Regions from separate parts of the Homo sapiens genome. Here all the other regions are linked to region 7. Evidence: promoter capture Hi-C in human tissues and cell types (Jung and others, 2019). All regions are on one chromosome and are shown on one strand. Each heading gives the region's core, a stretch centred on a gene start or on the middle of the fragment in contact. The rest is flanking DNA. Distances are from core to core; before and after follow the strand shown. Region 1 overlaps KYAT1-SPOUT1 (KYAT1-SPOUT1 readthrough). Region 2 holds the start of NAIF1 (nuclear apoptosis inducing factor 1). Region 3 has its middle 2.1 kb from the start of DNM1. Region 4 overlaps DNM1 (dynamin 1). Region 5 holds the start of PTGES2 (prostaglandin E synthase 2). Region 6 overlaps KYAT1-SPOUT1 (KYAT1-SPOUT1 readthrough). Region 7 holds the start of SPTAN1 (spectrin alpha, non-erythrocytic 1).

What was found. Contacts are between HindIII fragments. The study calls those that stand out against the background at their distance.
Region 1: a fragment that was not itself captured here is called in contact with the fragment with the promoter of SPTAN1 in region 7 in 3 of the 25 tissues and cell types used here (aorta, hippocampus and lymphoblastoid cells).
Region 2: the fragment with the promoter of NAIF1 here is called in contact with the fragment with the promoter of SPTAN1 in region 7 in 2 of the 25 tissues and cell types used here (aorta and hippocampus).
Region 3: a contact is called between a fragment that was not itself captured here and the fragment with the promoter of SPTAN1 in region 7, in 1 of the 25 tissues and cell types used here (hippocampus).
Region 4: a fragment that was not itself captured here is called in contact with the fragment with the promoter of SPTAN1 in region 7 in 1 of the 25 tissues and cell types used here (liver).
Region 5: the fragment with the promoter of PTGES2 here is called in contact with the fragment with the promoter of SPTAN1 in region 7 in 1 of the 25 tissues and cell types used here (bladder).
Region 6: a contact is called between a fragment that was not itself captured here and the fragment with the promoter of SPTAN1 in region 7, in 1 of the 25 tissues and cell types used here (heart right ventricle).

Annotation. Positions count from the first base shown.
Region 1 is chr9:128,846,622-128,850,349 of GRCh38, forward strand. All of the region lies in intron 1 of KYAT1-SPOUT1 (KYAT1-SPOUT1 readthrough), which reads right to left. All of the region lies in intron 1 of KYAT1 (kynurenine aminotransferase 1), which reads right to left. Among named protein-coding and RNA genes, the nearest start is that of SPOUT1, 19 kb to the left of the region's middle. The HindIII fragment of the contact is 3,862 bases long and covers 1-3,306 here.
Region 2 is chr9:128,065,395-128,068,872 of GRCh38, forward strand. NAIF1 (nuclear apoptosis inducing factor 1) reads right to left here and starts at 1,926. Exons shown (of 2, transcript NM_197956.4): 1 at 1,197-1,926. The coding sequence starts at 1,707. It overlaps SLC25A25 (solute carrier family 25 member 25), which reads left to right and starts at 2,838. Exons shown (of 11, transcript NM_001330988.2): 1 at 2,838-3,186. The coding sequence starts at 2,926. RefSeq lists an enhancer at 1,785-2,114 and a silencer at 2,565-3,134. The HindIII fragment of the contact is 18,346 bases long and covers 1-3,478 here.
Region 3 is chr9:128,199,344-128,203,223 of GRCh38, forward strand. It overlaps a transcript of CIZ1 not described here. Among named protein-coding and RNA genes, the nearest start is that of DNM1, 2.1 kb to the right of the region's middle. RefSeq lists an enhancer at 3,719-3,818 and a silencer at 3,879-3,880. The HindIII fragment of the contact is 4,461 bases long and covers 1-3,880 here.
Region 4 is chr9:128,222,977-128,225,676 of GRCh38, forward strand. It overlaps DNM1 (dynamin 1), which reads left to right. Exons shown (of 22, transcript NM_004408.4): 10 at 1,275-1,413. Among named protein-coding and RNA genes, the nearest start is that of MIR199B, 21 kb to the right of the region's middle. The HindIII fragment of the contact is 4,555 bases long and covers 1-2,700 here.
Region 5 is chr9:128,125,290-128,128,978 of GRCh38, forward strand. It overlaps PTGES2 (prostaglandin E synthase 2), which reads right to left and starts at 2,440. Exons shown (of 7, transcript NM_025072.7): 1 at 2,150-2,440; 2 at 1-152. The coding sequence starts at 2,428. It overlaps PTGES2-DT (PTGES2 divergent transcript), which reads left to right and starts at 3,240. Exons shown (of 1, transcript NR_024425.1): 1 at 3,240-3,689. RefSeq lists enhancers at 1,961-2,040, 2,681-2,800 and silencers at 2,181-2,470, 3,111-3,310, 3,341-3,450. The HindIII fragment of the contact is 32,314 bases long and covers 780-3,689 here.
Region 6 is chr9:128,863,417-128,866,972 of GRCh38, forward strand. The region is part of intron 1 of KYAT1-SPOUT1 (KYAT1-SPOUT1 readthrough); the gene reads right to left. The region is part of intron 1 of KYAT1 (kynurenine aminotransferase 1); the gene reads right to left. Among named protein-coding and RNA genes, the nearest start is that of KYAT1, 17 kb to the right of the region's middle. RefSeq lists an enhancer at 174-468. The HindIII fragment of the contact is 3,497 bases long and covers 118-3,556 here.
Region 7 is chr9:128,551,108-128,554,756 of GRCh38, forward strand. SPTAN1 (spectrin alpha, non-erythrocytic 1) reads left to right here and starts at 1,480. Exons shown (of 57, transcript NM_001130438.3): 1 at 1,480-1,589. LOC101929270 (a long non-coding RNA gene) reads right to left here and starts at 1,306. Exons shown (of 4, transcript NR_188457.1): 1 at 1,261-1,306. RefSeq lists silencers at 1,124-1,893, 3,443-3,649. The HindIII fragment of the contact is 8,229 bases long and covers 1-3,649 here.

The DNA of each region.
Region 1 (3,728 bases), core at 126-2,625, 300 kb after region 7:
AAAAGAAAGAAAGAAATTGGCCAGACCTGAGAGCCACCAAACTCAGGTCCTAACCCACCTTGGCTGGGTGACCCTGGATAGGTAATTTGGCTCCTCCTGTCCTCAGAATCCCTTCAGCAGCAGGGACCTCACATGGGCTTTGTGGTCCCTGAGGAACCTTCCGTTCCTGTGGGTTTGCCAGTCCCAGATGGCTGGTGGGCCGTGGAGCTGGGGATCCAACATTCTTCTCAGCCACCTGCTGTGGTCAATAGTGAACCCTGGCTCAGGATTTTGCTCAGTTCCACCTCGCTCAGTTCCCACTGCACTCTCACTAGAGGTGCCACAATAGTCTCCATCTAACAGATGAGGACACTGAGGCTTGAAGAGGCTCAGGTACCTGCCCAGGGTCAGAAGAGAAGCTGGCAAGGACCTGGTCAGGGTGGCAGCCACAGTAATCTCAACACCAGGCCCCCCTGTCCTGGAGGGGCCTTGGGACCATTTGAGTAAGTGCCAGGTCTTCCATGGCCCAGGAACCCCACCGCGCCTGGCTCAGTTGACATTTATTGAGTCCCTACCAGGTACTGGGTTCTGGGATGGGCACAGGGGATCATGGGAAGCAGCACCCTACAGCGCCCAAGCTGACTATTCAGATGCAGAGCTACAAGTTCTAGACTAGAGAAGCAGGGGCAAGGGAGAAGCCCACATACAGGCTGCAGTTAAAGAGGGCTCCCTGAAAGAGAAGGCTCATGCACAGCTTTGAAGCCAGGAACGAGCCAGACCCCAGAAGCCCCAGGCCATGCAGGTGGCAGAGTATTGGGGTTAGGGCACTTACAGTCTGGTGCAAGAACCAAGTGAGTGGGGCTCCAGCCTTCCTTCCCTGAAGGGGCCCCACCAGGTGCACAGAGATGGCTGCTGCAGTCCTGAACATGCCTCCCAGAGCCTTGGGGCACTGCAGACTTTTCCAGAGGCAGGGGAGAAGGGAGGAAACAGCCCTGGCCAGAAAATGCCTCCGAGCTCAGGACTTGGGTCCCCCACACACAGCTCTAACAATAACAACAACAACAACAACAACAACAACAACAATATGGTCATTGCGTGCCAGGAATAGCACCAAGTGCTCTGTTGCATGATTATCCGACTCCGTCCTTATAAGAACCCTGTTACTCATATACAATACACCCCCCAGCAACCCAAGTGACCCTTTCAAAACACAAATCACCTCTAATTAAAAAATGATCCAGGAGAGGATCACTGATAGCCCTGAATATCACCAAGAGCATAAACCAAACATGTTCTGACTCTGGAAACACATACACCACCTGCAAATTATTCCTGCTGTAAAAGTGGCCCTAAATTAGATCACACTGTTGAATGACTAAAATACAGGGACAGAAGAACATGTTAAATAACACCATGGAGATGCAATCAACAAATTCAAGCAGGGCAATGTGTCTCACACCTGTAAACTCAGCACTTTGGGAGGCCAAAGCAGGAGGATCTCTTGAGCCCAGGAGTTTGAGACCAGCCTGGGCAACATACTGAAACACCGTCTCTACAAAAATACAAAAATTGACCAGGTGTGATGGTGCACACCTGTAGTCCCAGCTACTGGGGAAGCTAAAGTGGGAGAATCACTTGATCCTGGAGAGGTCAAGGCTACAGTGAGCCATGATCCCACCACTGCACTCCAGCCTGGGCGACAGAGGGAGATATGTCTCAAAAAAAAAAAAAAAAAAAAAAGTAAATGCCTGAAAAAGAAGAAAAAAATTGAAGAAATCACACTGCACAATTTGGAAGCTTAATGCAAACATACAGGAACCAAGAAAGTGTGATACTGCTTAAAGATAGATATATAAGTCAATTGAATAGAACTGACAGTCCAGAAATAAATGGTCACAATTGCTATTTGATAAGATGCTAAGAAACTCAAATGGGGGCCAGGCATGGTGGCTCACGCCTGTAATCCCAGCACTGTGGGAGGCTGAGGCGAGTGGATCACTTCAGGTCAGAAGTTTGTGACCAGCCTGGCCAACATGCTAAAACCTCGTCTCTACTAAAAATACAAAAATTAGCCAGGCATGGTGGTGTGCACCTGTAATCCCAGTTACTGGGAGGCTGAGGCAGAAGAATCACTTGAACTTAGGAGGTGGAGGATGCAGTGAGCCGAGATCACGCCACTCACTGCACTCCAGCCTGGGTGACAGAGTGAGACTCTGTCTCAAAAAAAAAAAAAAAAAAAAAATTGGGAGGCTGGGTGTGGCTCATGCCTGTAACACGAACACTTTGGGAGGCCAAGGCGGGAGGATCATTTGAGGTCAGGAGTTTGAGACCAGCGAAACCCCATCTCTAATAAAAATACAAAAAATTAGCTGGGTGTGGTGGCACATGACTGTAGTCCCAGCTACTTGTGAGGCTGAGGCAGGAGAACTGCTTGAACCTGGGAGGCAAAGGTTGCAGTGAGCCAAGATCGTGCCACTGTACTCCAGCCTAAGCGACAAAATGAGACTGTCTCAAAAAAAAAGGTGGGGAGGCCAGGCATGGTGGCTCATGCCTGTAATTCCAGCAATTTGGGAGGCTGAGGTGGACGGATCACCTGAGGTCAGGAGTTCGATACCAGCCTGGTCAACATGGTGAAACCCCATTTCTACGAAAAATACAAAATTAGCAGGGCATGGTGGCACATGCCTGTAGTCCCAGCTACCCAGGAGGCTGAGGCAGGAGAATCGCTGGAACCCAGGAGGCGGAGGTTGCAGTGAGCCGAGATCACACCACTGCACTCCAGGCTGGGTGACAGAGCAAGTCACCGGCTCAAAAAAAAAGCGGGGGTGGGGGGTGGGAAATAATAATCTTTTCAACAAATGAACAAATGGTGCTGAGACAACTAAATATCCACATGTAAATGAATGAATTTGGGGCCAGGCGTGGCAGCTTATGCCTGTAATCCCAGCACTTTGGGAGGCCGAGGCAGGCTGATCATGAGGTTAGGAGCTCAAGACCAGCCTGGCCAAGATGGTGAAACCAAGATGGTGTACTAAAAATACAAAAAATTAGCCAGGCATGGTGGTTGGCACCTGTAATCCCAGCTACTCAGGAGGCTGAGGCAGAGAATTGCTTCAACTTGGGAGATGGAGGTTGCAGTGAGCCGAGATCACGCCACTGCACTCCAGCCTGGGAGACAAAGTGAGACTCTGTCTCAAAAAAAAAAAAAAAGAAAAGAAAAGAAAAGAATGAATTTGGACCTCTATCTCACAGAATACACACATATAAATTTTTTATTTTCTTCTTTTTTTTTTTTTTTTTTTGAGATAGGGTCTCACGTTGTTACCCAGGCTGGAGTGCAGTGGTGCCTTCTCAGCTCACTGCAGCCTCGACTTCCTGGGTTCAAGTGATTCTCCTGCCTCAGCCTCCTGAGTAGCTGGGATTATACGTGTGTGCCACCATGCCTGGCTAATTTTTGTATTTTAATTAGAGATGGGGTTTTGCTATACTGGCCAGGCTGGTCTTGAACTCCTGGCCTGAAGTTGTTCTGCTCATGACGGCCTCCCACAGTGTTAGGATTGCAGGCATGAGCCACCATGCCTGGCCAGCCCAGGCTGTTCTTGAACCCCTGACTTCAAGCGATCCTCCTTCTTCAGTGTAGGGAAAAGAAAGAGAGATCAGACTGTTACTGTGTCTATGTAGAAATGGAAGACATAAGAAATTCCATTTTGACCTGTACCTTGAACAATTGCTTTGCTGAGATGTTGTTA
Region 2 (3,478 bases), core at 676-3,175, 490 kb before region 7:
GAGTGAGCCACCATGCCAGCCCTTTGATGCTTTCTTGACTTGACTTCCTAGGCCCCTATGGCGAAGCAGAAAAGGAGGTGGGAATGGGGCAGCAGTAGCTAAAGTACCCAGTCAATGTCTCCCTGTCTGTCATCATCTGGGTCAATCCGATACTTAAACATCCTTCCTGTTCCAGAACAGCATCTGACCTAGACCCGTGTTTGTCCCCCTTACCCCACCCCAGTGTATTCTTGAGAAATACGCATTGTGAGGGGATGGCACTCGCACATCCACCCAACTCCCCCAACCCCCACTGAGAATCACTGAATGATCCAGCTCACGGTCATCACAAACGAGCAGAGGTAACAGGGCACAAACTCTTCTTTGAACTAAAAAATCCAACCAAAGTTAGTTCTGTTGTCATTCCTGAGAACCACGGAAAGGATCCTGGCTGGGCTGTATGGGCCTCCGCGCATGTGGGAGAGGTCAAGCTCCTCCACCCTTCAACGCCAATGTCAGCTATGTGTCCTTATGCCACCAAGAAGCCCCCTTCCTCTTCCGGGGCCTGAGGTTTTCCCAACTGATGGCGAAGCTATTCCTATATGTGTCATCTCTGTCCTACTAGAACATAACTGGCCTGTATTTTAGACAACTTGGTAATCCCAGTGCCCAGCACAGGGTTTGGTACAGAATAAGTGCTAATGTTTGATGAATGAATGAATGAATGAATGGAGTAGATTAACACCAGGAACCATGAGGCTCCTGAGCAGCACCTGATGAAAGATCCCCCACACTGAAAACAGAATCCAGAATCGTTGTCTCACTTGGGCAGTATTATTCCCATCAATTTTTTCAACAAATATGGCCTGGCTGTCTACTACAAGCCGGGCCCTGTGAAAAGTCCTGTGGGGATACAGACACGGTCTCTTGTTTTCAAGGACCACCCAGTTCGGCAAGTGGAGGTAAGTCATGGACAAACATGGTGGCAATGCTCAGTGGCGAGCTATCCAGCACGTCAGAAGTCCAGCCCACGTGCTGAGGAAGTCCCAAAGAGAGCAAGATCACTTCTGTCTGGGTGCTGCTCTTGGAAGGCCTCATGGTCTTCCAAGACCCCCATCTGACCTCTGACCCTTGGCAGCCAACCTTCCCCAGGCCACCCCAGAGCTTGCTGGCCCTTCCCACTTATGCACGCCGCCTGGGCAGGAGAGGTCACTCACTCTGTGTCAGGGTGACCGTGGCTGCGGCTGCGGTGGCCGAGGGTCCGAGGGCCACAGGGTGGATCTCTGTGGTGCTGGGCAGGCTGATGATGGTGGCCTCGCCCAGCAGGTTGCAGATACGTTGTTGCATGGGGGTCAGCAGCACTGGGGCTACAGCTGGGCCACCGCCACCACTGCCACCGCCTGTCCCAGGCCCCCCAGCTCCGTCCTCCTCAGTGGGCCCCGGCGCCTCACCACCCTCCACGGCGGCCCGGACCTGGGCAACCTTGCGACGGACCTCGGTCTTGAGGTCAGACCACTTCTTCTTGACCTCAGGCAGCTCTCTGCGGCAGGTGGCCACGGCGTTGACCCTTCTCAGGATGCCGTGCCAGGCCGCACTCTTGGCGGCCAGGGGTACCCCGGCGTTGAAGTGGTTCACCAGCAGGTGCTTCTTCAGCTCCAGCTCCTCCACGATGATCTCCACCTCCCGCTCTGAGAAGTTCATCTTCCTTTTCTTGGCTGGGACGGCCATGGCCTCTCCCCTCCCCTCTTTTTAAAGAAATTATAATCCCCTCAAGCGCCCCAATTCCCCTTCTCTTCTTCCTCAGCCTCGCCCCTCACCCACCCCCTACAGGGGATAGGCCAGGCTTGCTCGAGGCCAAGCACTAGGCCTTTGGTAACCCCCCTCGCTACGCAAAGTGCGTAGGGCCCAGCCCCGACCGGCCCGGCCGCTGCCAGCCAGCAGCGTAATGGCTTCCTGAATCTGCCTCTTCCGCCGAGGTGTGCGGAGATCCGCCCACTTCCCCTCTTCCCGCCTCCCAGCGCTTCTCCGGGAAAACCGGCCTTCCCGGTTGGTAGCTGCTCAAATATCACGTCGATCACTGGTTCTTTCGATCTGTCGCTCAGCTAAAGAGCACGCCTGCTTACTGTAATTCGCCTGATCATTGGTCTAAAATTGTGTCCGTCGCCCAGAGGGCCCCGCCCACCTAACCTTTATTCACTTCCATTGGAAAATCATTCTGTCGTTCAATTGTCAGTATTACGACTATTAAGCCGTTAAATTCAGCTATTTTATTGGTGGTTTAGGGAGTTAGATTACCAAAACCCTGCTTCCTGAGGATACTTAGTGCTTTCGGCCGTGACCCATGGGTCAATTAACTTTTAATTCCTCCCACCGGCACAAACTCTGCCTCGCAACTGCAGTTCACAAATGCTCTCACACAAATCCTGTTTCCCACTGGAGGCTACGATCTCTCCGTACACTACCGCTCCTCCCATCCTTAAGATCCCGCAGTCTAAACAGAGTTAGTTCATCAATGGAAACTGGACACGGGGCCTTCCGCCTGCCAATCACATTACTCATGCCTATCGCTGCGTGATTTTCTCTCTCTTGGCCCCCGGCTCAGCCAATCCCCGCCTCCCTCAGTTTGAATCGGCCCCAGGCGGAGCCGGGTGACCCCGCCCACCCCATTGATCCGGGTAGTCCGTGGCGCGTGGGCTGTCCTTAGACAGGCTCCGCCCCTCCCTCCTCCCCATCCGAGCCTGTGACTGGCCTTCGGTGCGCCCGGGCGTGGCCGGCGAAGCGGGGCGCGGAGGGGCGGGGCTCCCGGAAGCCGCCCCTTCCGCCAGCTTGCCGGCGTCTCCGAGCCCGCGCTCCCAGCTGCAGAGCGCCTGGCTTGCCTCCCGCGCGGTCACCGCCGGCCCGCCGCCCCCGCTCCCGCCCGCGCCCGGAGCCCCTGCCTCGCGCCCGATGGTGAGCAGTGTGTTGTGCCGCTGTGTGGCCTCCCCGCCGCCGGACGCCGCCGCCACCGCCGCCTCTTCGTCTGCCTCATCGCCGGCGTCCGTGGGGGACCCCTGCGGCGGCGCTATCTGCGGGGGCCCGGACCACCGGCTGCGCCTGTGGAGACTCTTTCAGACGCTCGACGTCAACCGGGACGGCGGCCTGTGTGTCAACGACCTGGCGGTGGGGCTGCGGCGCCTGGGACTGCACCGCACCGAGGGCGAGCTCCAGGTAGGCTGCGCGCGTCCTCAGCACTGGCGGGGAGGGAGCCCCTCGAGGGCCGGGTGACAGGTCTCGGGGGACGGCCCCTTGGGCTGGGCGGAACCCCCACTGTCCAGAGGAAGGGTGCCCCCTGACTCACTGAGGGACACCCCACTTATGCCCTGGTGGGAGCGGGGCTCCTTCCTGACTTCTTTGGGTGCTTGAGCCGGGTTCTTCGTGGACACAGGTGGGCATCCTATGGGCTTTCTGATGGGCGAAAAGCCCTTTCTTGCCCAGAGTAGAAGGCCAGGTCTCAGGAGTG
Region 3 (3,880 bases), core at 468-2,967, 350 kb before region 7:
GAGCTGGAACAAGACTCTGTCTCAAAAAAAAAAAATTCTGCCCAGCACAGTTGGTGGTCAAAACTTTGGGAGCTCAGCCATGTATGGTGGCTCACACCTATAGTGCCAGCACTTTGGGAGGCCAAAACAGTAGGATCACTTGAAACCAGGAGTTCAAAACCAACCTGGGCAACAAAGCAAGATCCCGTCTGTACAAAAAAAAATTGTTTTAATTAACTGGGCATGGTGGTGTGCACTTGTAGTTTCAGCTATTTGGGTGGCTGAGGCAGGAAGCCTACTTGAGCCCAGGAGTTTGAGGCTACAGGGAGCTGCGATTGTGCTACTGCACTCCAGTCTGGGCAGCTGAGCAAGGTTTATCTTATCTCTAAAAACAAACAAAAAAACAAAAACAAAAAAGCTTTGGGAGCTCAAGAGAGAGTAAAGAAGCCATTTCTTTCTTTCTTTTTTTTTTTTTTTTTGAGATGGAGTCTTGCTCTGTCACCCAGGCTGGAGTGCATGGTGTGATCTCGGCTCGATGCAACCACCACCCCTGCCTCCCAGGTTCAAGCAATTCTCCCACCTCAGCCTCTCGAGTACCTGGGATTACAGGTGCGGGCTACCATGCCCAGCTAATTTTTGTATATTTAGTAGAGATGGTGTTTCGCCATGTTGGACAGGCTGGTCTCCAACTCCTGGCCTCAAGTGATCCACCCGCCTTGGCCTCCTAAAGTGCTGGGATTACAGGTGTGGGCCACTGCACCTGGCCCTGAGATTCTTCTTTTCAACCAACTCCATGTGATGCCAGGCTGCTGGCCTGGCATCAGTGATACAGCAGTATAGGATACTTAGTATAATCCCATTTCTGTAAAAACAAAATGGAACAAAATGAATATGTGCATATATGAAAAACAAAGCCAGAGAACGATCCCTAAGCTATAGTGGTTATCTCTAGGTGGGAGGATGACCAGAGGTTTTCAAATACTTGTGTAAAGTCTGGTTTTACAATAAGTTTCAATATTGTAATTAGGGGGGAAAAAGTAAAAATAATAAAAGCTGGCTGGGCATGGTGGCTCACAGCTATAATCCCAGCATTTTGGGAGGCTGAGGCGGACAGATCATGAGGTCAGGAGTTTGAGACCAGCCTGGCCAAGATGATGAAACCCCGTCTCTACTAAAAATACAAAAATTAGCTGGGCACAGTGGCGAGCACCTGTAATCCCAGCTACTCAGGAGGCTGAGGCAGGAGAATTCCTTGAACCAGGGAGGGAGAGGTTGCAGTGAGCTGAGATCACACCACTGCACTCTAACCTGAGCGACAGAGCAAGACTCTGTCTCAAAAAAAAAAAAAGAAAGAAATACAAAAAATTAGCTGGGCGTGGTGGTGCATGCCTGTAGTCCCAGCTACTTTGGAGGCTGAGGCAGGAGAATCACCTGAACTTGGGAGGCGGAGGTTGCAGTGAGCTGAGATCACGACACTGCACTCCAGCCTGGGAGACAGAGCGAGACTACGTCTCAAATAAATAAATAAATAGGCTGGGCACAGTGGCTCATTCCCGTAATCCCAACACTTTGGGAGGCTGAGGCAGGAGGATCACAAGGTCAAGAGATCGAGACCATCCCGGCCGACATGGTGAAACCCTATCTCTACTAAAAATACAAAAATTGGCCGGGCGCAGTGGTTCACACCTGTAATCCCAGCACTTTGGGAGGCAGAGGCAGGCAGATCACAAGGTCAGGAGATGGAAACCATCCTGGCTAACACGGTGAAACCCTATCTCTACTAAAAATACAAAACATTAGCCGGGCGTGGTGGCACGAGCCTGTAGTCCCAGCTACTTGGGAGGCTGAGGCAGGAGAATTGCTTGAACCCAGGAGGTGGAGGTTGCAGTGAGCCAAGATCGCACCACTGCACTCTAGCCTGGGTAACAGAGCGAGATTCCGTCTCAAAAAACAAACAAACAAACAAAAAATACAAAAATTAGCTAGGAGTGGTGGCACGTGCCTGTAGTCCCAGCTACTCGGGAGGCTGAGGCAGGAGAATCGCTTGAACCCAGGAGGCAGAGGTTGCAGTGAGCTGAGATCATGCCACTGCACTCCAGCCTGGCGACAGAGTGAGACTCCGTCTCAAAAATAAATAAAATAAATAAGTAAATAAATAATATTAAAAGCCCAGCCATGATGCCCTCTAGGCAAACATCTATAAACTGCACCCCCTCCTGGTGCCAGTCATCCAGGCTTCCATCTCTGCCTTCTCTTGTCCTCAGAGCATAATAACAGGTTGGCATGGAACAGCTGCCAGGTTCCATGCAAGTTGTGTGGCACTGATGCTCCAGCTGTCTGGTGAGCTGTTATCATTGGCATCCTCACAGCTGCAGCTTAATAAGGGCCCCCTGAGCACTAGGCCTGGGCTGTGCCCTACACAGGCATTTGATCTATTATTATCCCCATTATCCAGATTAGTTAACTGAGGTTCAGAGACGTGGAGGGACCTGGGTCACGCAGCTTGTTTAAGGCCCAGATTAGACTCCTAATCCACTCTCTGGTGCTACCAGGGAGAGGGCCTGCTTGTTCCCCATGCCTGCCTCGAAGATTCCTCCCCACAAGGGTCACTCTCTGATCACCATCTTCACAATAGCAACACCACCCTACCCCGCCCCTGCTTTCTTGCTCTGCAGGGCACGCCATCTAACAGGGCCATCGTTATTGCCCTATTTGCATATTGTCTGTCTTTTTCCACTGAATTGTCAGCCACATGTGGGTAAGGACTTTGTCCGTTTTGCTCACTGCTTTATCTCTGGAGTCTAGCATAGTACCTGGCTCAACAAATACGCATTAAATGGATGAGTAAGTGAACAGTCTCCAATTCACAGACCACTTTGTCAGCAGTGCCCCCACACTGTTCACAGCGCAGGGAAATGACTCACCGACTCCCCATGAGCACAGTGTAGGCTAGCCTTCCCTTCCTAGCCTCCACCGTGAATACTAATTAGGTTTCTTAAATGCAGAGATGGACGGCTGGGCTCAGGGCCCCATGGTCTGTCTGTGTGAAAGGGTACGCAGGGTAGGATTGTAGGAGCCCTGGATTTGAATCCCACTGTTTTACGCTGTTTTACCACCATCCTGATGGGTTGGAGCAAAGACTTCCACTCTCTAGGACAAGAGCTTCCAACTCTCCCAAGAAGGGCCCTCCAGGTGTCAGGGCCTCTGCACTTGCTGGTCATTCAGCCTGGCATGCTCTTCCCCTGATCTGCTTGCTGCTGGCTCCTTCTCATCATTTTGGTCTCTTCTCAAATGTCACTTCTGCAGAGAACACCCCCGACTCCTGCCAAGCCAATGTGAACTTTCCACACCCACAAAGATACCTTTTTTCACCCTGTTTATTTCCTCCATCCCTCTTACTATGAATTATTTTCATTTTTACTATTTCATTTATCTGCTTACTTATTTACTGTCTGTCTCCCCAGCTTGATGCAAGATCTATGAGGGCAGAGGCCTTGGCTGTCTTATTCGTTGCTGAATCTTCAGTGCCTAGGACAGGGCCTGGCTTCTAGCAGGTACCTAGTAAATATTTGTTGAATTCATGTTCCAACTTTCTCCTTCTAGAAACAAGGAAACTGAGGACCAAAGGCAGAAGAGGACATGTTGGAGATCAGAGTCAGGATCTAGGGATAGAAGCCAGCGAGATGAAGGGGAACTCATCTCGGAGTTCTGACCTCTGAGGTCAGGAGGCTGTGACCTCAGAGGAAGCCCATCTGCTCTCCAGGCCTGTTTCCTCATCGGTAAGATGGAGTGAAACATCCAGACCACTCTCCAAGAGGCCTGGTACTAGGAGTGAGACCCAACCCATTGACAAATATATTCTGCGCAGCATCCGCGCACCCCAGACACTGCTAAAGCACCC
Region 4 (2,700 bases), core at 1-2,500, 330 kb before region 7:
GTCCTCTCGACCCCAACTTTCTGGCTCCCTGCATGACAGGCTCCAGCTTGGGGAGGTGGACCCGGGCCACCCCGCCTACTGCAACTTGCTGGGCCAACTGGGCACAGCCCAGGGCGCAGGTGGCCGGGGAAACACCCTCTGGGGCTGGGCCCATCCCCAGGGTGAGATAGCTCCCCCAGTGCCACCCAGGTAACCGGACAAAGATGTCCAAACCACTACGAGGGCCTGGGGTGGAGCATCTAAGTATGAGGCTGTGTCCTTTTATGACGGCCGGGGACTTTGCAATCCTCCACACCCTCCTGTATTCACAGTAGCCCAGAGTCAGTCCCATTCCACCCCACCGCCCTCCTTCTAGGCAACCCGTGGAGTAGGAAACAGGATTGGGAGGTGGAATCTGTTCCTTAAAAGCTTAGATCCCCTTCAGGGACCCAGATCTATGCTGTGTTCATCCAACAAATCCACTGGGCCGGAAAATTTAAAGCACCTACCCTATGCCAAGCAGTGAACAAGACCCAGTGTCCCCTTGCTCTCATGCAGGTTCATTTCCAAGATTTGGCATGGAATTTACTTCCTGATAACTGCACTGGCCAATTCACAGAAAAAAGATCTCTTTCCTAGTCTTAAAACAAAACACTCTATTCCTGGAAAGGCTCTTATGGAGAACCACGTTTGGCAATTTTCAAGCCATTTCTGGCCATAGAACTTCCTATATGCACAGACCCTTACGAGGAAGCAGGACTTACATATCAGATACTCAACCACCTTGTCTTGCCCCAAAGAGCCTCATTAGGGCCGGGCGCGGTGGCTCACGCCTGTAATCCCAGCACTTTGGAAGGCCGAGGCAGGCGGATCATGAGGTCAGGAGATCGAGACCATCCTGGCTAACACGGTGAAACCCTGTCTCTACTAAAAATACGAAAAAATTAGCCGGGCGTGGTGGCAGGCGCCTGTAGTCCCAGCTACTTGGGAGGCTGAGGCAGGAGAATGGCGTGAACCCGGGAGGCGGAGGTTGCAGTGAGCCAAGATTGCGCCACTGCACTCCAGCCTGGGCGACAGAGCAAGACTCCGTCTCAAAAAAAATAACAACAACAACAAAAAACCCTTCATTAGAACCCCTCCCTCCCATTTTACAACTGGGGACACTGAGGCCCAGAGAGGGGTAGTGGAAGGGCCCCTCAGGCAGAGTTCGTGGGCTTGGGGAGGAGCCTCGGCCTGGCCCTCCTGGCCGGCACTGGCCTGTGACACTCTGCCCTTCTCCCGCTCCGGGCGTTCAGAACGGGGCTGTTTACCCCAGACATGGCCTTTGAGACCATTGTGAAAAAGCAGGTGAAGAAGATCCGAGAACCGTGTCTCAAGTGTGTGGACATGGTTATCTCGGAGCTAATCAGCACCGTTAGACAGTGCACCAAGAAGGTAACCCGGAGGCCCGGGCCAGCCCCCACCGCCTCTGCCCCGCCCTGCACTGCTGCCAGGCGCTCCTTCCCCATGTCCCCCCCTGCCTCCTCGGTAGCATGTACAGACCTCAGCGGGGTGGGGAGGCAGGCCACCACTGAATAGGAGACAATGTGCCTCTGAGAGGGCCTCACCCACCCCTGGCCCCCAGGTCTGGGGACCCAGGGATTGGACATGGGTGAGACGGGGATGATGGCTGGCTGTTTACCCCAAGAGCCCACCAAGAGCTCCCCCAGCTCAGAGAATAGGGCTTGAGGGGACCCTGAGCCCCCTCCCTGTCCTCGGAGGTGTCATCTTTGGGAGCTCCAGGGAGGGGTCTGGGGAAACCTTAGCCTTGGAGACAGGTGAAATGCAGGGCCTTCTCGGGCACTGCTCGGTGGGCCTGGGTGGCCAGAGGGGGTGCAGAGGACCCAGGACTAGCAGGTGCCCTGGCTCCCCGCTGTCCTTCATCCTCCCCATACTCATCTCACCCTCACTCAGGACCCTCACACAGGATGCTCACGTAAGACCCTCACTCAGGGCCTCTCCCTCCCTTCCATCCACATCTGGCTTTCCAGGGATAGAGCCCTTCTCCCATCTGCCCCACCATCCAAGCCTCACAGAAGCACGCAGGGAGGCAGGACAGGGAGGACGGTGCCCATTTCACAGCACGAACACTGAAGCTCCAGGAGATCAAGTGGCTTGCCCAAGTCACAGTAGTCAGGAGGTGGCAGAGCTGTTACTTGAAGCCACGGCTCTGGACTCCAAGTCCAGTGCTCCTCGATTCCACCCTCCAGCCTCCCTTCCTTTCCTCTCCCCACTGCTGTCCCGGCCCCTCTCTATCACTACCTCTACTCTTTCTGTCTTTCCTCTTCTCTTTCTGTCTTTTGGTTCCACCAAACCCCTGTGGAGGAGAGGCCAGGAATGCCCCTTGAAGAGAAAGGGAGGGGCGGGACTAGAGCAGGGAGCTGGAGAGGGAGGTCAGGCTGCTATACTGCAACCCTAGGAGGCAGCCTCTGCGCCACGGTTTACGGGAATGGACCCCCCTGGAGTTGTGCAGTGCATGGCCTGGGCAGCTGGATGCGGCAACCCTAGAGATAGGGAATGGTACTGAGGTTTGGAGTCAGGATGAAGCAAATTCTGGGACACTGGGAAACGTAGAATTGAACAGGATGGGTGGATGAGGTCCTGGCCTTGTCCTGGCCTGGGTCAGCTCCTTAGGAGAACCCAAGGCTGTGGACAAAGACGGCACTGGGAGAGAGCAGGCAG
Region 5 (3,689 bases), core at 1,190-3,689, 420 kb before region 7:
GAGGAGAACTTGATCTCAGCCCTGCGCACAGGGTTCACCTCCACCACCTGGTAGGGCAGGGCATGGAAGTCGAGGAAGGCTCGGACCTTGCTGCAGAAGGGACACGTCTTGTACTGGTACAGGGTCAGCTGCAGGCGGCTGGACAGGGAGAGCTGCGGGCAGCAGACGGAAAAGGCTTCTAGACCTGGCACCCCCAGGCCCAGGCCCTGCCCCCAAGGGTGTTTTCCAGAGGAGTCTTCTGAAATGACGCTAGAACATCGGGAAGAGGAACTAGAGATGGAAGGGGGCGGTAGGGGAAAGGGAGGCACTGGACAGCAGCCCAGGTTTAAGCCCCTGGCCAGCACGGTCCCCAAGCAGGAGTCCCACCCTTTGCTGCGAGGTTGTGTAGGAGGAATCTTCTAGTCTCTGTCCCATACTGGACAGACCCCTCTTTTCTCACTCCAGTCCCAAGGGGACACCAGACAGCCCCAGGGTATACACCCCACTCCCACAGACATGGAACAACTGTTTCAACTTGACTTGTTCACTCTCACTCCTCTAACCCCAGGGACCTCTGGGGGCAGAGCTGGGCTACCACCCAGGCTCATGTTCACCAGTGGGGTCTACCTCCAATCTCTTTCTTGTTTTTTTCTCTGGAGACAGGGTCTCACTCTGCCATCCAAGCTGGAGTGCAGTAGCTTGATCACAGCTCACTGCAGCCTTGAACTCCGGGGTTCATGTGATCCTCCAGCCAAAGTCTATCTCAAATATCCGAGGGGGAGGGTGGTATCTGAGCCAAGGCCTGCGTGTGGCAAGCTCCGCAGGAAAGCCCCCAGGGGAGCCTGCTGCACGTTCATGCCGGGAAGCCACAACTGTAGACCATCCCCCTGTGTTCAGAGGGGAAGCTGGACCGTGGAGGCAGGAAGGGAGACACAGAGTACTCCATGCCCTTTTTACCCACCTCTGTTCCCTCTGGTCCAGCAAATAAGCATCTGTGGGCGGGTGGTGGGAAGTCAAGTAATGAAGAGTTGCAAGGTGTGGGGTAGGTATAAAGTGTCTCAAGGCAGCTGGGCCACCACTTAGGGGGTCACCACTTGGGGGGGGCACCTTTCTACCTCTTCCTGTTTCAGCCTGGAGTCTAAGTCATCAGTTCCATAAAGGTACCACCACTACTACTAAATAAATACACAGCCTTAGGATTTGGGGGCAGTGGGGAGAGAGGATGATGAACGTTTGGAAAGTGAAAAAGGCTTTCCCTTTCCTGTGATCTCCCATCTCTTAATCAAAAAAGTCTTAAAACACGGTAGAGGCTGGGCTCCGTGGCTCACACCTGTAATCCCAGCACTTTGGGAGGCCGAGGCGGGTGGCTCATTTGAGGTCAGGAGTTCGAGACCAGCTTGGCCAACATGGTGAGACCCCCGTCTCTAGTAAAAATACAAAAATTAGCCGGGCTGGGTGGCAGGCGCCTGTAATCCCAGCTACTGGGGAGGCTGAGGCAGGAGAATTGCTTGAACCCAGGAGGCGGAGGTTGCAGTGAACCGAGATCGCGCCACTGCACTCCAGCCTGGGCAACAGAGCAAAAAAAAACTCCGTCTCAAAAAAAAAAAGTCTCCTTAAAACATGGTAAAGGCTGGGCGCAGTGGCTCACGCCTGTGATCCCAGCACTTTCAGAGGCCAAGGTGGGCGGATCACTTGAGGCCAGGAGTTCGAGACCAGCCTGGGCGACATGGTGAAACCCTATCTCTACAAAAAATACAAAAATTAGCAGGGCGCAGTGGGGTGAGCCTATAGTCCCAGCTACTCGGGAGGCTGAGGCAGGAGGATCCCTTCAACCTGGGAGGCAGAGGCTGCAGTGAGCCGCGATCGCACTCCAGCCTGGGCGATAATGCGAGACCCTGTCTCGAAAACATAAATAAACAAACCAAAAAAAAAAAAAAAAAAAAAACCACGGTAGAAGAACGATTTTATGAGAACTCGAACAATTCCAGGTAGTAGGCATCAGGAGTGCCCCTATTTTACACAAAAGAATACAGAGGGTTCGGAGACTTCAGACCAAGTCACTCGCCCAAGGTCACAAGCAGGCAGAGGCAACTCCTGACCCTGCGGGTTCCCAGGAGTCCCGAGTTCGGCGCTGATCAGCATCCCCATCCCCGGCCGGGCCAGGCCTTACCTGCGCGGCTGAGCGCTCTGCGTGGAGGTCCTGGGCGCGCAGGTGCCACCGCGCCGTGTGGTACAGCCCCAGGGCTCCCCCCAGGGCCAGCGCCGCAGCTCCCAGCAGCCGCGGGCTCCCCTTACGAGCTGCAGCCACGGGGCTCGGGCCGCCCGCCGCCCCCGCGAAGCCAGCCCGGCTCTGCGTGGGTAGCAGCGGCTGGGGGCGGCCTCCCAGCCTCCAGGCCAAGGCGCACCCACCAGGCCACAGCGCCCGCACCACCCGCGCAGCCGGGTCCATGTTCGCTCCGCCGGCGCCGCGGGCGGGCGCGCGAAACGAAGACGCCGAGGCACGCGCGGCGTTTAAAGGGCCAGGACTCTGGCGCCCCGCGGGTTGGCCGGGGTGAGGGCGACGCTAAGGGAACCCTCAGCGCTCTCGGGACTGGGCGTGTGCCCGGCGCCCAAGTTCGAAACGCCCGCCAGAGCCGCAGAGGCCCGCTCGGGAACGTTTGCAGACCGTTCCATGCTTCCGCCTCCAAAGGCTCTTGGGTAGTGACCCGGCCGACTGCAGGGGGGCGAACGTCTCCTCGCCCCACCTTGACCGCCTAAAGGGCGGCGTGGCCGTCTGTAACACGTACTTGCCCACCTCTCTTACGGGCGCCCATTCAAAACAACTCCAGCCCTTCCTAGAGTCAGTACAGGCGCCGCGACTTCCGGCCACTGAAAGCCCCGGAAACGACCCGACCCGGCACCAGGTGTTGCGGTTCTCTCTGCCCTCCCGCCTCATTGTCCGCTTCCTACTGTGACCCGAACCATAAAATTTTCCCGAACCCGAAGGGGCCTTGGAAACCACGTGTCTCTGATTTCGCCCACGCGAAGCGGCCGGCCCGCCGACCCCGAGATTTCCAGGGAGAGGATGGCAAAGTGGGGTGCCAGGCTGCTCGGTCCTTCTGCTGGGCTCCCCCGCCCTAGCTGAAGCCCGGAGCCTCCACCGCATAGGCGTCTCCGCGGACAGCCCCGGGATGGCCCCGCCCGGCGCCCGAGAGGGGGCGGGACTCGCAGAGTGGGCGGGGAGAGGGGCGGGGCGAGGGGGGAGCTCTGAGTCCCGGCTCTGCTGCTCCGCCGCGTCCCACTCTTCTCGCTCCGCTTTCGCCCCGCATCTTCCACCTTCCTTCCAGTCCTTGCGGCGACCGAGCCCGCAGTGTCAGTCCCCAGCGGGGACCTGAGTATGCCGGTGAAGACGAGAGCGGAAGGCGAGGACGACGGCTTCGGGGAAGCGGGTGACCCGAGGAGACTGCTGGAGCGACCTTGGCGTTTCCGGGGGTGCCTTCCCGGGAAGGGGAATCGGGATGTTGGCTTCGAAGGGACCGAAGGGCCCACCTCGACCCGCCCCGAGTGGGTTTGGAGTTGTAGGTGCTGTCTCGGATGCAGGGCGAGCACCCGCGAGCGGGTAACCAGTCCCGTGAGAGCTGCAGGTCCCCAGCCCCGTTTTACAGATAGGGAAACTGAGGCAGCTGCTGGGACACTCGCCCATATGGGTTTTGCTCCACCCACTTCCTTCA
Region 6 (3,556 bases), core at 616-3,115, 310 kb after region 7:
GAGCTCAGAAGTTCAAGACTAGCCTGGGCAACATAACAACACCCTTTCTCTACAAAAAAAAAAACCAAAACAACAAAAGGATCCAAATACAAGAGCTTGCACCTGAGCATGTGCACACATCTCTGTGTCTGTGTCTGTGAGCTTATGGGTGTGGTGAAGGTAGGTTCCAGGAACTTAGGAGGGAGGGAGGGAGGGAGAAGCCATAAGGGGTTCTCAGCCAAGAGCAGAAGGGTACAGGGGGCACGTAGGCTGCCTTAACCCAGCAACTTGGCCAGGTTGGTTGGGAGCAACTTGGGGGCTTGTGGGTGTGTTATTCCCGAGTCGGCCAGCAGGGGGCGCAAGGAGCCAGGCCCCTCGTGGCTTTGAGGTTGCTGGCCCAGGTCACAGAGCAACCTGCTGGCCCCAGGAGGGGACTACGCCTCACTTCACAGAGGAGGCCCAAAGCAGGGAGGGTGCTGCTCCAGGTTCCCGCATAAGGCAGGACTCCTGACCTCCCAGGCACACCTCCCTCCAATGCCCTGCGCCTCACCCCTTTTCTAGGAAGCAGGCCTTCCCTAGTCAGCTCCTCAACAGCCCTGGCAGTCACCTTTTATTTACCACACGCTTTCCTGTGCTAGGTGCCCCGTGGAGCCCTACACGTCCCACCACTTAAAAATGTTTTTCAGGCCGGGCGCGGTGGCTCACACCTGTAATCCCAGCACTTTGGGAGGCCGAGGCAGGTGGATCACAATGTCAGGAGATCGAGACTGTCCTGGCTAACACAGTGAAACCCCGTCTCTACTAAAAATACGAAAAAAAAATTAGCCAGGCATGGTGGCGGGTGCCTATAGTCCCAGCTGCTTGGAAGGCTGAGGCAGGAGAATGTTGTGAACCCGGGAGGCGAAGATTGTAGTGAGCCGAGATTGCGCCATTGCACTCCAGCCTGGGCGACAGAGCGAGACTCTGTCTCAAAAAAAAAAAAAAAAAAAAAGTTTTTCATTTAAAAAATTTTGGTAAAATACACATATCATAAACTTTACCATCTTAACTATGTACAGGTATACAGTTTTGGGAACTGTTTTCATCTTGTAAAACTGACAACTCTGTACCCATTAAACAATTACATCCCTTTACCCTCTGGCCCATAGCCCAGCCCATTTGCTGTCTCTGCGATTTTGACTACTTGAAATCAGGTCCCATCACTTTTATTATTTATTTACTTATTTTTTGGGGGACAAAGTCGTGCTCTGTCGCCCAGGCTGAAGTGCAGCAGCGCGATCTCAGCTCTCTGCAACCTCCGCCTCCCATGTTCAAGTGATTCTTGTGCCTCAGCCTCCCGAGTAGCTGGGACTACAGTTGTGCACCACCATGTCCAGCTAATCTTTGTATTTTTAGTAGAGACAGGGTTTCACCATGTTGACCAGGCTGGTCTAGAACTCCTGACCTCAAGTGATCCGCCTGCCTAGGCCTCCCAAAGTGCTGGGATTAGAGGTGTGAGTCACTGCTCCTGGCTTCCCATCACTTTTAATCCTATAAGAAAGATTCCTTCAAGAGGCTAAGTGGTCAGGTACAGTGGCTTATGCCTGCAAGAGAGGCCAAGGCAGGAGGATCCCTTGAGCCCAGGAGTTCGAGACCAGCCTGGGCAACGTAGTGAGACTCAATCTCTACAAAAAATAATAAATTATCTGGGAGTGGTGGTGCACGTCTGTAGTCCCAGCTACTCGGGAGGCTGAGGTGGGAGGATCACTTGAGCCTGGAGGTTGGGGCTGAAGTGAGCCATAATTGCACTACTGCACTGCAGCCTGAGTGACAAAGCAAGACCATGTCCCTCCCCACATCCCTCCCACACCAAAAAAAAAAAAAAAGGCTAAGTCACACACCCAAGGCCACAGCTAACAAGTAGCAGAGCCTACATATATATATATATATATATATATATATATATATATATATATATATATATATTTTTTTTTTTTTTTTTTTTGAGACAGAGTTTCGCTCTTGTTGCCCAGGCTGGAGTGCAATGGTGCGATCTTGGCTCACTGCAACCTCTGCCTCCCGGGTTCAAGCGATTCTCGTGCCTCAGCCTCCCAAGTAGCTGGGATTACAGGCATGCACCACCACACCAGGCTAATTTTGTATTTTTAGTAGAGGTGGGGTTTCACTACGTTGTCCAGGCTGGTCTCAAACTCCTGACGTCAGGTGATCCACCCACCTCGGCTTCCCAAAGTGCTGTGATTACAGGCGTGAGCCACCACACCCAGCACAGAGCCAATATTTGAACTCAGGACTCTGACTCCTACTTTCCAAAAGCCAAAGCAGCACAGATGCATGGATGCTCAATGGGAAATGAGAGAATTTGGTCCAGTGGCTCACATTTTATTGATGGGGATACTGATAACCAGGGATGGGGAACTGACCCACCCAGATTTCCCAGGACCAGGTTAGCGAAGTCCCAGTCCTGACATTTTTCTCATCCTAATAGGCTGGCTCTTCCAATGGGCGTTATGCACCTGGCACAGAGCAGCTGCTCAATAAACCTGCAGAATGAGAATGAATGTCTATCGCTTGCACCAGACTGTAAGCTTTGTTAGAACAAAGATTCTCTTCTGTTCATCTTTTTATTCTCAACATCTTGCACAGAGCCTGCCATATGGTAAGTGTACATCTCCTCAGTGAATTCCTATTATGTGCTATTCATTCCCTAAGCTAGCCACCATGTATACAAGGGTGATAGGATACCTTCCTTTCCTCCAAGGAGCGCACAATCTAATCAAGGAGACAAACAAGTAACTGGGCCATTTTAATATAATATGAGCCTTAATATGCAAATATTTGTATAAATCGACAACAAAAGACCAGCATCTCAATAAGAAAAAGTGTGAAAAAGATATAAATGGGAAATTCACAAAAGCAAATAGTCGCTGGGTGTGGTGGCTCACGCCTGTAATCCCAGCACTTTGGGAGGCTGAGGCAGGCGGATCACCTGAGGTCAGGAGTTTGAGACCAGCCTGGCCAACATGGTGAAACCCTGTCTCTACTAAAATACAAAAATTAGCCGGGTGTGGTGGCAGGCACCTGTAATCCCAGCTACTCGGGAAGCTGAGGTGAGATAATCACTTGAACCTGGGAAGTGGAGGTTGCAGTGAGCTGAGATCGTGCCATTGCACTCCAGCCTGGGCAACAGAGCGAGACTCTGTCTCAAAAAGAAAAGAAAAGAAAAGAAAATAGTCGCCGGGCGCAGTGGCTCATGCCTGTAATCCCAGCACTTTAGGAGGCTAAGGCGGGCAGATCACTTGAGGCCAGGTGTTCAAAACCAGCCTGGCCAACATGGTGAAACCCTGTCTCTACTAAAAATATAAAAAATATTAGCCGTGATGTGCGCCTGTAATCCCAGCTGCTTGGGAGGCTGAGGCAGGAGAATCGCTTGAGCCCAGGAGGCGGAGGTTGTGGTGAACTGAGATCGTGCCACTGCACTCCAGTCTGGGTGACAGAGCGAGACTCTGTCTCAAAAAAAAAAAAAAGTCAATAACCTTGAAAGGATGCTGAAAATTAGTCATAATTAGTGATACGTAAA
Region 7 (3,649 bases), core at 230-2,729:
GTCTGGGCCCAGATTCTGGTGCAGTGTCCAATGACTTTATATTTATTTAAAGAGGAGAGCTGCTTGGTAACCAGGAGGCTGAAGCCTTCCTAAGCTGCAGAGCTCCCCGTCTGCCTGACTGCACAGGAATGATCTGGGTGTTACTCCCAGTGGCTGCGGCCCAGCTGTCACCGGAATGGGGATAGGGAAAGGGCTTCCTAATCCAGGGCTTCTGGCTACAGAGTTTAGAGCCAGGACCTTAAACTGCTAGGACTTTAAGTATCAGAAATTCTGAGAATCTTATTTTTCTCTTTCTGCACCCCAGCAGCCACCCGCATCAAAATGCCTCCCTTTCCTATTTGAAGGCAATACACATACGGTTGCAAAGGGAAGGTTCTGACTGCTGAGATGTAAATCCTAGCTCTTCCAATTGGTAGCTGCCTGACCTGGGCCAAGAGACTTAGCCTACATGAGCATTATGTAAGAGTGCCCATTTGTAAAATGGGAAAACATCTCATAAAATTATTGCAAAGATTAAGAAATGAAAAGGTAACACGAAATACTTAGCATAGTGCCTAGTACACAAGGCAAGTTCGATTAATTGTGCCAGAAAGAACCTTAATGTCTTGTTTATGAAATAGGATGAATGTAGCCTATTCCACTGGCGACCTGTGAGAAAGCTTTTGTTGCAGGAATGTAAGAAATTATTATTTTGCCGCTGCCGTTTCCTCCCCCATAATCTCCAAGAACATAAGAAATTAACTCTCCAAATCCCAGAATGACAGCTTTATGCCCCAAATTAGTCGACTTAATTTTTTTTCTGATTCGGATTTGGCCTTTTCCTCTCACCACCTCCTCAAACCCGGGGCCCCAAATCATCCGCGTCTTCTTGACCCCAGCCCCCACCGAATTAGGCTGACTTGGGACCCCAGCGCCAGCCTCCTCCTCGGGAAAGTGAGCAGGAAGAGACGCACTCGGGTGATCTCACCCTTTGGGACTGGGCGTTTTTCCGGCCGGGGCGCGCAGCATCCCCAGCCAGACTGCAGCGATACCCCCGCCCCGCCCTTCTCCGCAGTCCTGGAAGAGCTCCCAGGGCGGAGTGGTGCGATGCAGACGACTGTCCGCAGGGCGGGCGGTGGCGGGGCGCAAGCTGCGGGGAGGGAGGTGAGGCGGGAGCGTCTCTACCGCCAGGGCGTAGGCAGTGACCTCACTGCACCATCACCCCTCACCCCTTGCGCGCGCCCCATTTCCCCATCCTCCCGCGGCCCGCCCCTCGCTCACCTCTTCCCCCGCATTGTCGCTTCGGCTCCTTCCGGGATCGCTCGGCCCTTTCCGCCGGGCGGTCGGGCGGCGAGCCGGCGGGAGCACCGCCCCCTTTGCTCCGCCGGCGCGCTCCCCCACCCCTCGCGCAGCGCCGGGGCGCTTCCCCCGGCGCTCGCGCCCGCCCGCCGCGGGAGCGCGCGTAGCCGCTTATAAAAGAGGCGGGGCGCGCGCGTCGCCGCCACTACCCGCTGCGGAGTGAACGGTGTGGAGCGGAGGCCGCGGAGGCTCCTCGGTCCTTCAGCACCCCTCGGCCCGACGCACCCACGCCCCTCACCCCCCGAGAGCCGGTGAGAGGGGCAGCCGGGGAGCTCCGGGAGGGAGCGGGGCCCCGGGCAGCCGACCCCCGGGTGGGAGCTGGGCAGCTCTTCAGGCGGGGCGGGGCCGGCGCGCGGACAGGTGAGCCGGGCGGGCCGCGGGGCTGCCTCCATTCGGCTGAGTGGGGGAAGCCGCTGCCGCTGCTTTTGTGGCGCGTGGGCTGCGGAGGAGCAGCCGGGCCGAGGCTCGGCGCCGCCGCTGGAATGTCACTGACGGGGGGAGGGGGCGCGAGGCCGCCGGGTCCCTCCCAACCACCCCCAAGCCTGGCTGCGGCGCGGCCCTGCCCTGCCCCATCCGGCTGCGGCAGGTGGGTGGGGGCTCCCTCGTCGGGATCTTCGCCAGCCGCCTCCCTGCAGAACGCTCCCCGCACCGCCCCCGGTCCCTTCCCTCGGCCGGGAGCGACTTCTGCAGCTCGTTCTTCCGAATCGCACCAGCAATGCCGGCCAGCCGTAGAGGGAGGAAGAGCCCGGGGAGCCCGAGCATAGCGTAAACGGCTCTCTGACCTTAATTTCATCCTGCATGGCGAATCTCTGCCGTCTCTCTGAACGCAGAAGGGTCTGAGACTGGCCGTCTCCTTTTCTTTCCTTGTAATAAACATTTTTCTTTCTTCCTAGTTGTGATTTGCTTGTAAATAATAGGTAAATGCAGTGCTTGCATGGTATGTGGCTCAAATCAAATAACTTAATAGCTTAGCGTTCTTGTTTGTGTGTGTGTTTCCTGGGACTGGGTCTTTCGAGTCGAGATACAGTGTCAAAAATTCTACCATACCACTGTTGAATGATAGAACAGTCTTTTGTTTGAAAGCTGTCCCTGAGAATTTGATTAGACGCTTCCCCTAGAACATCGCTTTCAAAAGTCTCTGATGTACTAGAGTAAAATATATTTTAAATAAGCGCCTTGTTAAAAGTTGAATATGTTTTAAATGAAAAGCCTAAATAGCTCAGAAAGCTGGGTTGAGATGATGCTTGAACTGTTCCAACATCTAATCAGATCTCTTTTATATAATAGATCCTAAAATATTTAAGCCCTTTGTTCTGTCTTCATCATGTTATTTTAGAAAAACTTACCATCATGGCTGTTCGGGAAGAACAGGAGAGAGGCCATATGAAGTATTTTCATAATGTGTTGAGAAATTGCGTCGTCATAGCAATTGGCCTTAAGTAAAACAGAATGTATCAAAGATGGAAGGGTGGGGGTGTCTTGGAGCCAGGAAACAGAAAATCTTGGAAATAGCAGGAGGAACACTCAGCTATATGAAGCCATTGAGTCAAGGTTCCGACTCCTTAACTAGTCGTTTATTTTCCCTTTCATTGCAGCTAACTAATGTCTTAGATTTTGAAAGGTCAAATTGAATGTGCTGCGGAGGAAAAAAAAAGTGCTGCAGTAAAGGCCTCTGTGCAGGAAATTAACAATAAGCCTTTTTTAGTAACTGGGCCAATAATTACTCAAAGGGACCCTCAAAGTGTGTTAACTGTTATCCAGGGACCTTGATGGAGAGACTGGAAAGGAGGATTTTTGCTTCATCCTGGACAAGTGTGAAGCAGTTCTTATGGCAAACCATCAGCCTAGTAACTGATTCTCTGATATGCTTTGGTCTTGGCAGTGTGTTTTGTAGTCATCTAATAATTGGAGAAATCTGGTATGTCACAGGCTGCAGTGTAAGCCTGTCAAGCAATATGATGAAGAGGTGCACATGGGGAGAGCTGTTTTAAGTATGTCTTTTGGTTCCCTGGGTTAGAATTTTTTCTGCTTTTTCTTACCTGCCTTCATCCAAAGTTGGGGGTCAACTGCAGATCCTGAAAAGTGGATCTCAGGAATAGTCCCCCATGTCCTGTCACTGCTGAATCTACACTAAGAATGGACAAGTGTGTTCAAGGCTGGCCTGCCTTTGTAATCAGTCCTCCGTGGGCTATGCAGGGATCCCACTAGTTACGCACTCATCTGTTGCAGCATATCAGCTGCGGCTGTACTGTAGAAGAATGCAACGCCCTAGTGGCAAATGCTGACTCCAGGAATGCGGAGGAGGAGGAGG